Linked DNA regions of Homo sapiens: regions 1 and 3 are each linked to region 2. The links are contacts of gene promoters, found by promoter capture Hi-C in blood cells and fetal thymus (Javierre and others, 2016). All regions are on one chromosome and are shown on one strand. The core of a region is centred on a gene start or on the middle of the fragment in contact, and the rest is flanking DNA. Distances in the headings are between cores, read along the strand shown. Region 1 overlaps TRIM66 (tripartite motif containing 66). Region 2 holds the start of C11orf16 (chromosome 11 open reading frame 16). Region 3 overlaps TRIM66 (tripartite motif containing 66).

Region 1 (2,700 bases), core at 187-2,686, 290 kb after region 2:
TCTTCTTGAAAGTCTTTTCTCAAGGCCCTTGAATTGTGGGAGGGGTTCTACAACTGTCAAATCCACAGGAACCAGAGTTCATGATCCACGTGATCTAGCCTGGAGCCTGGCAAGGCTGGATAGCTGGTTTCAGCTCCATTAAAAACAGAATCCTGATTAATGAACAGGTTAAGGTTAATTGTGAAGGATTCATTATTTTGCAGGAGATCTATGTGGAGTAGTAGCAAGCGCCTTCCTCAGCCTCTGGCAGGTAGTGGGATGCTTGGGCTTGATGGTGTGCTATTTCTGGACAACTGGGCAAATCCAGCCAAGCTCAGCCCAAAATCCTCCTTGTGCCCCTGGAGAGTCATCTCCTGTTTATAACACTTCCCCCGAGCTCTGTATTTCTGCAGTGTCCTCTGAAGGCTGAGAGCTGTGCAGCAAAGCTTAACTGAGAGGTTTGTCTACCTGAGCAAGAGAAGCTCACTTTCTCTGTCTTCTCTGGCAGGAGTGAATGGTGGTCCCGGAGACTTCACCTTGTATTGTCCTCTACACACACAGGAAGTACTCAAGCTATTCTGTGAGACATGTGATATGCTCACTTGCCATAGCTGCCTAGTGGTGGAACACAAAGAACACAGGTGGGGCTGACAGACTGCCTGAAATGGGCTGGGGAGGGCTCTGGATTTCTTACTTGTGAGAGCTCTGGGAATCCCCGTGCATCAGAATCTTCTCCCTGCCCAAGCCAACCTGCAGCCCCTGGGCTGAAGTTTTTCTCTGCTCCTGTTGTAGGACTTCCCTGGAAAAGGCCTAATGGGCCAAGAGCCTGTGGTGCCTTAGACTTTCCCTAGAAGTCATCACAGCTTCCATGGGTCTGGCTGAGACAGTTCCCTGTGGAGATTCCCGCTTGGTTGGCATGCTCAAAGTAGGACTCAGCCCTTCTCAGCTTTTTCTCTGCCTCATCCCCTAGGTGCAGACATGTTGAAGAAGTTTTGCAAAACCAGAGGATGCTTCTGGAAGGTGTGACTACACAGGTGGCACATAAGAAATCCAGTCTACAGACATCTGCAAAGCAAATTGAGGACAGGTAGCACAGGCTAGTGCCTTGCCAGTGCTGGAAATGCTCTGTTCCCGCACACCCAGGGTTCCAACACCAGGCCGTCAGATGTAGTGCCTGTGAAGAGGAACTGTGGTTAAGCAGATGTGGGCATATGTCCTAGAAGGCATATGTCTTGGCCTTTGAGGTCTCAGGGCCAGGGAGGGGTCATTAAGTCATCCCTTGGTGGCTGAGACCAAGCTAGGTCAGGATGATCAGAGTGAGTCTGGGTCAAAGAATATGCCTTATGAACTAGCCAGAAGTCGGTGCTTGAGAACAAGGGTACCAAGCAGACACTAGGGAAGAGAGTGCTGCTTATTATGAGGGTGGAACAAACCAGGGGCAATCTGTGCTTTATCACCCCTTTCCCTGTGTGTTCTCTGTAAATCTACAAGTCACATGAAATCATTGGTATTTTACATAGGAAGAGGAAGTGGTAGGTGCTGAGAGCACCTCATGTGTCAGGCACTGGGTTGGGTATCATATATGCATTATTTTGTTCAGTTCTTGCCATTCTTTCAGTTAGCGATTTTCTCCATTTTACTGATGAGGAGACTGAGGTTCATAGAGGTTTGGTAACTCATCTGAGATCACACAACTAGCCAGTGACTGTGCTGGGTTTAGATGGTAGGTCTGTGGTGACTTCAATGCCCATGCTTTTTAAATTTTTAAAAATAGCTTTACTGAGATATAATCTACGTATCATAAAATTATTCTTTTTAAATGTATAATTCAGTGGCCTTTAGTATATTCACAGAATTGTGCAACTGTACATAATTACTGTCTACGTTTAAAACATTTTCATCCCCCCAAAAAGAAGCCACATTAATATAAACATTATTATATGTTTATAATAAACATTATATTATATGTTTATTGTTTATTATATAATTATATGTTTATTATTGTTTATTATATAATATGTTTATTATATAATATGTTATTATGCCAATAATATAAACATTATTAGTCACTCTCCATTCCCCCAACACCCCCCGGCCCTCAGAAACTACTGAGGCAGTATGCATTCTGCCTCTTTTTACCTCATGGCGACATTTATTGGAGCATCCTCCTTTTAAACACAACAAATTACAGTAAATTATTCCCATACTTTCTCTTTTGGTCCTACCTCTAGTGCTGTGTCAACTGGTGGGCTACTGGGTTGACCTTGGTGTAGACTTGAGGTTTACCTAGAGAAAACCAAGCTGAACTTTGATCAAGTGGGGCTTTGTACAAAAGGTGGGATGGTGGAGGAAGGCTCTCTTTTTTTTGTATTTGGTGTCTGCTAGGCCCTGATCTCAGTAGGCAGCCTCCAAGTTGGTTCTTATGTTTGCTGTCTCTTCGTCTTCATATAGTCCATGAGGAAAGCTTACCATGGTTTGTCCCATTGTGTTTACAGGATTTTTGAAGTGAAGCATCAGCATAGGAAGGTGGAAAACCAGATCAAAATGGCCAAGATGGTTCTGATGAATGAGCTGAACAAACAGGCCAATGGGCTAATAGAGGAATTAGAGGTATGTATAGACAGATGGATCAGATGGTTGGGTTCAGAAACCATCCATATATCAAGCTAGTCCCAGGACCTAGGGAAGCCTAGGCTGTAATTCAGATATGCAGCTTCCATA
Region 2 (2,700 bases), core at 45-2,544:
GATGCTTCGGGAGGGCAGTCATCAGTTAAGAGGCTTTTGGTTGCAAGTAAGAAACAGCCCAATCCAGAGTGGCATAATCAATAAGGGGAATTATTGGCTCACAGAGCTGAGGCCTAGAGTAGCAGCACTGCCTGCAGGCAGGACTCAGTACTGTCACCGAGAACCTATTTTCAGCTGGGCGTTGGGGTGCATGGCTGTAGTCCGAGCTCCTTGGAAGACTGAGGCAAAAGCATCCCTTGAGCCCAGGAGTTTGAGGCCAGCCTGGGCAACCCTGTCTCAAAACAAACAAACCAACCAACCCTCTATTTCCTGAGGTCTATCCTCTCTTTCTCTGGGAATAGCTTCAGTGTTCCCAAAAGGCTGTCAGAGGCTCTCAGAACTATCAGCTTTCTTATTCAGGCATAGGAAGAAAGAGAAAGCCTATATCCCAGGATTCCCAACCAAAGTCTCCAGATTCCTGCTGATTGGAGAGGTTCAGGAACACGCCACTGCCTGACCAACCCCTGGGGCCAGACGGGGATGGAAGGGGTGACTGACACCCACTCTACCCCTGGAGGTGGGTACTTTGGCCTCCCTATCCACATGGATCTGCCAACTGAAACAGGACCTGGTAGAAGCGGGGTATGAATGTGGGGGAGACACATCCAAACGTGCCTGCATACCAGGCATATAACCAGTGCACAGTGACTGGCAGAGGCCTCCAAATACGAGCCCCTCCCACAAGCAGAATCTGGACTTCTGTTCCTTTGTTGCCAGTGTCCACACCTCTCACTCCAAATGGTCACAACACCTCTGCTCCTCAACAGAGTCCTGCCTGTTATAGACAAACAGGCCCACACCTTTGGTTATTTTGGTTTAGACTAGGGACAAATTCTATCCTAGAGTCCCCAGGCCGCCAGTGGCTCCCCCATTCCTGCCTCTAGTGTGTACAGGGAGGACGCCCTCAGTTTCTGCGGAGGTGGCTCCTCCCTCACAGGAGTCTCCTGGGATCCGTGAGGGCTTCCCACCACCACTGACTCTTCCAGCAGTGGAGCAGCCTGAGCTTTGGAGAACTGAGGCTACACTGGCCTTTTTCCCTTCTTCCTCCTCCTCTTCTCTCCAAAGGGAAACCTGGAGAACACCCCCTCCCCCATCACTTCCTGCCCCACCCCTACCTCCCAAGGCCTCCTGTCCCCCTCTCCGCATGCTCGGTGCACTCACTGGCCACAGACGACAGCGTCCCCAGGCTGCACCCATGGTAACCGGCGTGGCAACCAGGAGTCGGTTGGGCTGAGACCCTGAGCCCCAACTGTCAGAAGGAGCCTGAGGCTGAGGTGGAGGCTGGGAGTTTGGGGCTGTGGGTAAGTCCTTGTGGGGTCAGACCTGTGGACTTGGGCAGGGGCAGACCCTCACGGGGCTCTGGTGGGCTGCAGCAGTGCGGCTTGATCTTGGGCCCTGGTGGCAGCTGTCTCCTCTGAACAGGGCTGGAAAGGGGATGGACGGCCCTGAGATCTCAGCTTGCCTGAGGCCAGAACTAGCCTTGTAGGTGGCCGGGGAGGAGGAAGGAGGAAAAATACTAACATAAGTTGAGCTGCTGAATACGCCAGGTGCTTTCCATGTATTCTATCCTGAGTGTAACTGGAGAGCAGAGGTTAAGTGAGCACACAGCCAGCAGGCTGTAGGGGAGGATTTAAAGCTGGGCTGCTCTAAACTCACAGCACTTGCTCTTCCAATCCCTTCCCTGTTTCCTGAGTGGAGGTTCCCAAGGCAGGTGACTCAAAGAGGAAACTGTGAGAGTTTGTGGGAGCAGGTAGGGCCGTGCATGGACTCAACTGTCCCCAGAGGCAGCTAACTGCAGAGCTGAGCCCTGCCTCGCCCCGGTGGCCACTGCTTGCTTCAAGCTGCAGCTCAGGTAATGGTGGTGCCTATTCTCAGGTGGATCCTCTGAAGGCCATGGAATCCTCCACGGGGCCCAGGATGCCTTTGCTCAAATACTGCAGCGTGGCCACAAGCCTGAAGGCCCCTGGCTGGGACGGTGCTGCTCCACCTTGGGACCTCTCCTTCACCTACCCCTTTGCCCTCCAAGCACCCTGGCTCACCGGGCACAAGCCCCTTGCAAGGTACCTGTCTCTGCCCCTCTGGGGGAAGTGGATGCCCTTTTCTTTTTCCTTTGTTCTTGGCTGTTGGTGGTAGACCTTGGTGGACAGACTTGCTTCCTGAGAAGGTGGAAAGGGGTCGTCATTGTTTGGCCTATGATTGGCATATCTGTGTGGGGTCTGTCACTCCAGCCTACATTGTGCTCCCAGAGCCCTCCAGGGTTGATCTGGCTTTAGCAGAGTTGCAGATGCTGCAGTTGGCATGAGTAAGAGAAGGCAGTTAGGGATAGCCAGTTACCAAGTTTATAGCTCATTTTACCATCAATGCTGAGACTTGGCTGGGCGCAGTGGCTCACACCTGTATACAATCCCAGCACTTTGGAAGGCCGAGGCAAGCAGATCACTTGAGGTCAGGAGTTCGAGTCCAGTCTGACCAACATGGCAAAACCCCATCTACTAAAAACACACAAAAAATTGGCTGGGCATGGTGGCTCATGCCTGTAATCCCAGCACTTTGGGAGGCCAAGGCAGGTGGTTCACCCAAGGTCAGGAGTTCGAGACCAGCGTGGCCAAGATGGTGAAACCCCGTCTCTACTAAAAATATAAAAATTAGCCAGGCATGGTG
Region 3 (2,700 bases), core at 112-2,611, 300 kb after region 2:
TGGGAAAGTTTTAGTTTAGCTACATTATAGTAGTAAGCAGAGTAGAGGCAGGGAGTCAAGATTTCTATAAGGGCAGCTAACAAGGGAGAAGACAAGAAACATCACTTGGAAAAGTGCCACGGTATGAGGTCATTCACTGAAAGAACAAGCTAAGCCCTGCATTCTTAGAAGTTCCCGAAAGCATCACTGAATTACTTATTGGTTCATCCAAATTCCTTGATATCACTAAGAAATGGTCTCCTTAGCCTCCTTATGCTCTGCTTAATAAGACAGAAGAGTGTGTAAAGTGTTTTAGAAGTACTCCCATTTGAAATAATGTTTTTAAGCCAATTGCATTTTGTTATTGAAAGAGGTATGTTTCAGATAACTGGAAAGTTAATTTATGTGGAACACCACCCTATCTGCATTACTTTATCCCCAGCAATATTATCTTGCTGTAAGAACCTGAAATTTATATTAAACTCAGGGCATGTGCACTAAGTGTCTGTTTATTGATTTCTCAATCATTTCTTACTAGGGCACTAGCTTTCTAGCTTCTGGCACAGAATCAAGACTAGCCAGCCTGTTTTCAAGGCTGGTCCCAGATTCCTAGTCTTGGACCTGTATGAGCTTGGGAAATCTAGGTAATCACTCTGTGTCTCAATTTCCCTTCCTGTTAAAATGAAAGAGCAATGTTTTATCTGAATTTTGACAATACCATGTGGCAATCATTAGAATAATAATGTCAACACACTGAACTCTAGAAACACATCTGGGTGGTAAGAGTGAGGAGAGAGAGAGGGCAGCAGGTGACAGAGCACAGGTCAAGCAGAATTCAGGTTAGATGGGTGCAGGGTCACATAGGTGACTAGTAGCAGAGGTTGAAAGTCAGACAATTCAGGGAAGTCGTAGGTCAGGCAAGTTGTCAAGTTAGATGGTAAAGACAGGTAGGTTAAATAGGTTAACTGAATCCATTAAATTAATAGGTGAGGTAATTTCAGATAAGTCAGACAGGTGGCAGACAAAGATAAGGAGACAAAAAAGAGGCAAGAGGAAAGGGACAGGGACGGGGACACACAGTTTGGGGGAAGGGAAACGAGGATCGAGAGGAGATGCTAGTTAAGGGAGGTAAGAGGGGGCTCTGTAGGCTCAGGGTTGTCTCTCTCCATCTCCCAAAGATGACCTGAGCTGATTATCAGAGTGAATGTGTTTTGGCATTTTGACTCTTCCTCTCTGAACTAGAAAATAGTTTATTTTCAGTAGTGAATCTCAAAATATACCTTTTCCTTCATGAAATCTAGAGGTTTTGTATGTAAAGATGAAGTCAAGGTGTCAGTTACACAGTTGACAGCCTAGAAACCTCAGTGATAACCCTCTACGTACTTTATAGCTAGAAATACACATTCACCTCCTGTCATTTGACCTCTGAACAATCCTGGGGTCTAGAGGGTGGGTGGTATCATCTCCATTGACAAGTGAGCTCCCTTCTGCATGGGTGGCACCAAGTGTCAGACAACCTGGCCACGCTCTCAAGCCCTTTTCCAATCCCATCATGCTCTTGAGAAGTGCTTCCTCTCCTCCCAGGCCCTGGAGACTCAGCCTGCTTTCCTTGCTCTGAAGGTTGGCCCTACCCTTGCCCCCACCCATCTTGTAGCACTAGCAACAGACTAGGATGAAGGTTCTCAAATCTTCTTTTTCTTTTTGTACATGAAATAAGTACCTTTTGTTTTAATATTTTACAACCCTTCACTCTAGAGAGCCGATATAGTATAAAAATAACTAACACATAGCATATATAGGTTTCAGAAATGCCATTGTGTCTGCATAGCCTGTAAAAATGGGGTTGGGCTGGCTTTCTCACAGCACTTTCTCTGAGTCCCTTCCTCCGTGGAAATTTTCCACATTCTTGTTAATACTACCAGAGCTTCACCCCCTCTCCTGATAGCATTGGCCTCCTTGAGATTGGCTGTGGCTGTGAAAAGGAAATAAATCAGTCAAGTATGCAATATCTTGGGATGTATTGCTGACCTCGTATTGTCTTCTGGGCATTACGGGACCAGGTTCATCAGGTTCACCTCAAAATAAACTGCCATGGAGTTTCCGCAATTTTTCCACAGCTCAGTCTGCATGTCTTCCTCTCCCCTATCATTATGTTAACTCACATGTGCAATAGGTAATTAGGACAGGAGAGCCAATTTCCCACGAATATGATCTCTACCCCTAATCTGGGAAGTTTTGTCCTTGGGGATTTTATCTTGTGCATATCTTGTGACGTATGGCACCTGACCATTATTATTTGGGTGGTCTCACGTGGATTTTAGTGCTCTTAATGCTTGGCAACAAGGATCTCACTAAGAAGAGACATCTATATAATTCTCAATGTCCAGCATGGGTAGATTAAATGAGCGCCAAAACCACACTAAACATACATGTCAAATAGGGGAAAGGAGAAAGAATCCAGTGCAAAGGATTAGACTGTCATATATTGCAAAACGGAATGAAATAGTCACTGGGTGTTCTTGTTCATAGATAAGGAAATATAGAATATTAGAAAGCTATGGTAGTGCATAACCAGGACAACAAGGAGACATTAAGGAATGCAGGCCTGGGCATGTTTGAGATAGCCATTGATTTTTGGCCTTGGTCCCTTAAGCTGGGCTTCATTCCTAGCTTACCCAATTTGGTTTAAATATTCTTTCCACCTTGCTTCTCTTCAACCCT

Evidence for each region. The method cuts DNA at HindIII sites, captures the fragments that hold promoters and counts their contacts. A CHiCAGO score of 5 or more calls a contact.
Region 1: a fragment that was not itself captured here is called in contact with the fragment with the promoter of C11orf16 in region 2 in 1 of 17 cell types (M1 macrophages); the score reaches 5.1 in M1 macrophages.
Region 3: a fragment that was not itself captured here is called in contact with the fragment with the promoter of C11orf16 in region 2 in 1 of 17 cell types (M1 macrophages); the score reaches 5.9 in M1 macrophages.

The regions. Positions count from the first base shown.
Region 1 is chr11:8,646,336-8,649,035 of GRCh38, reverse strand. It overlaps TRIM66 (tripartite motif containing 66), which reads left to right. Exons shown (of 25, transcript NM_001388022.1): 9 at 488-620; 10 at 950-1,066; 11 at 2,475-2,589. Among named protein-coding and RNA genes, the nearest start is that of TRIM66, 35 kb to the left of the region's middle. The HindIII fragment of the contact is 2,018 bases long and covers 428-2,445 here.
Region 2 is chr11:8,931,541-8,934,240 of GRCh38, reverse strand. C11orf16 (chromosome 11 open reading frame 16) reads left to right here and starts at 1,294. Exons shown (of 7, transcript NM_020643.3): 1 at 1,294-1,340; 2 at 1,915-2,099. The coding sequence starts at 1,933. RefSeq lists an enhancer at 837-1,675. The HindIII fragment of the contact is 4,544 bases long and covers 1-2,700 here.
Region 3 is chr11:8,629,044-8,631,743 of GRCh38, reverse strand. All of the region lies in intron 15 of TRIM66 (tripartite motif containing 66), which reads left to right. Among named protein-coding and RNA genes, the nearest start is that of STK33, 36 kb to the right of the region's middle. The HindIII fragment of the contact is 2,756 bases long and covers 1-2,700 here.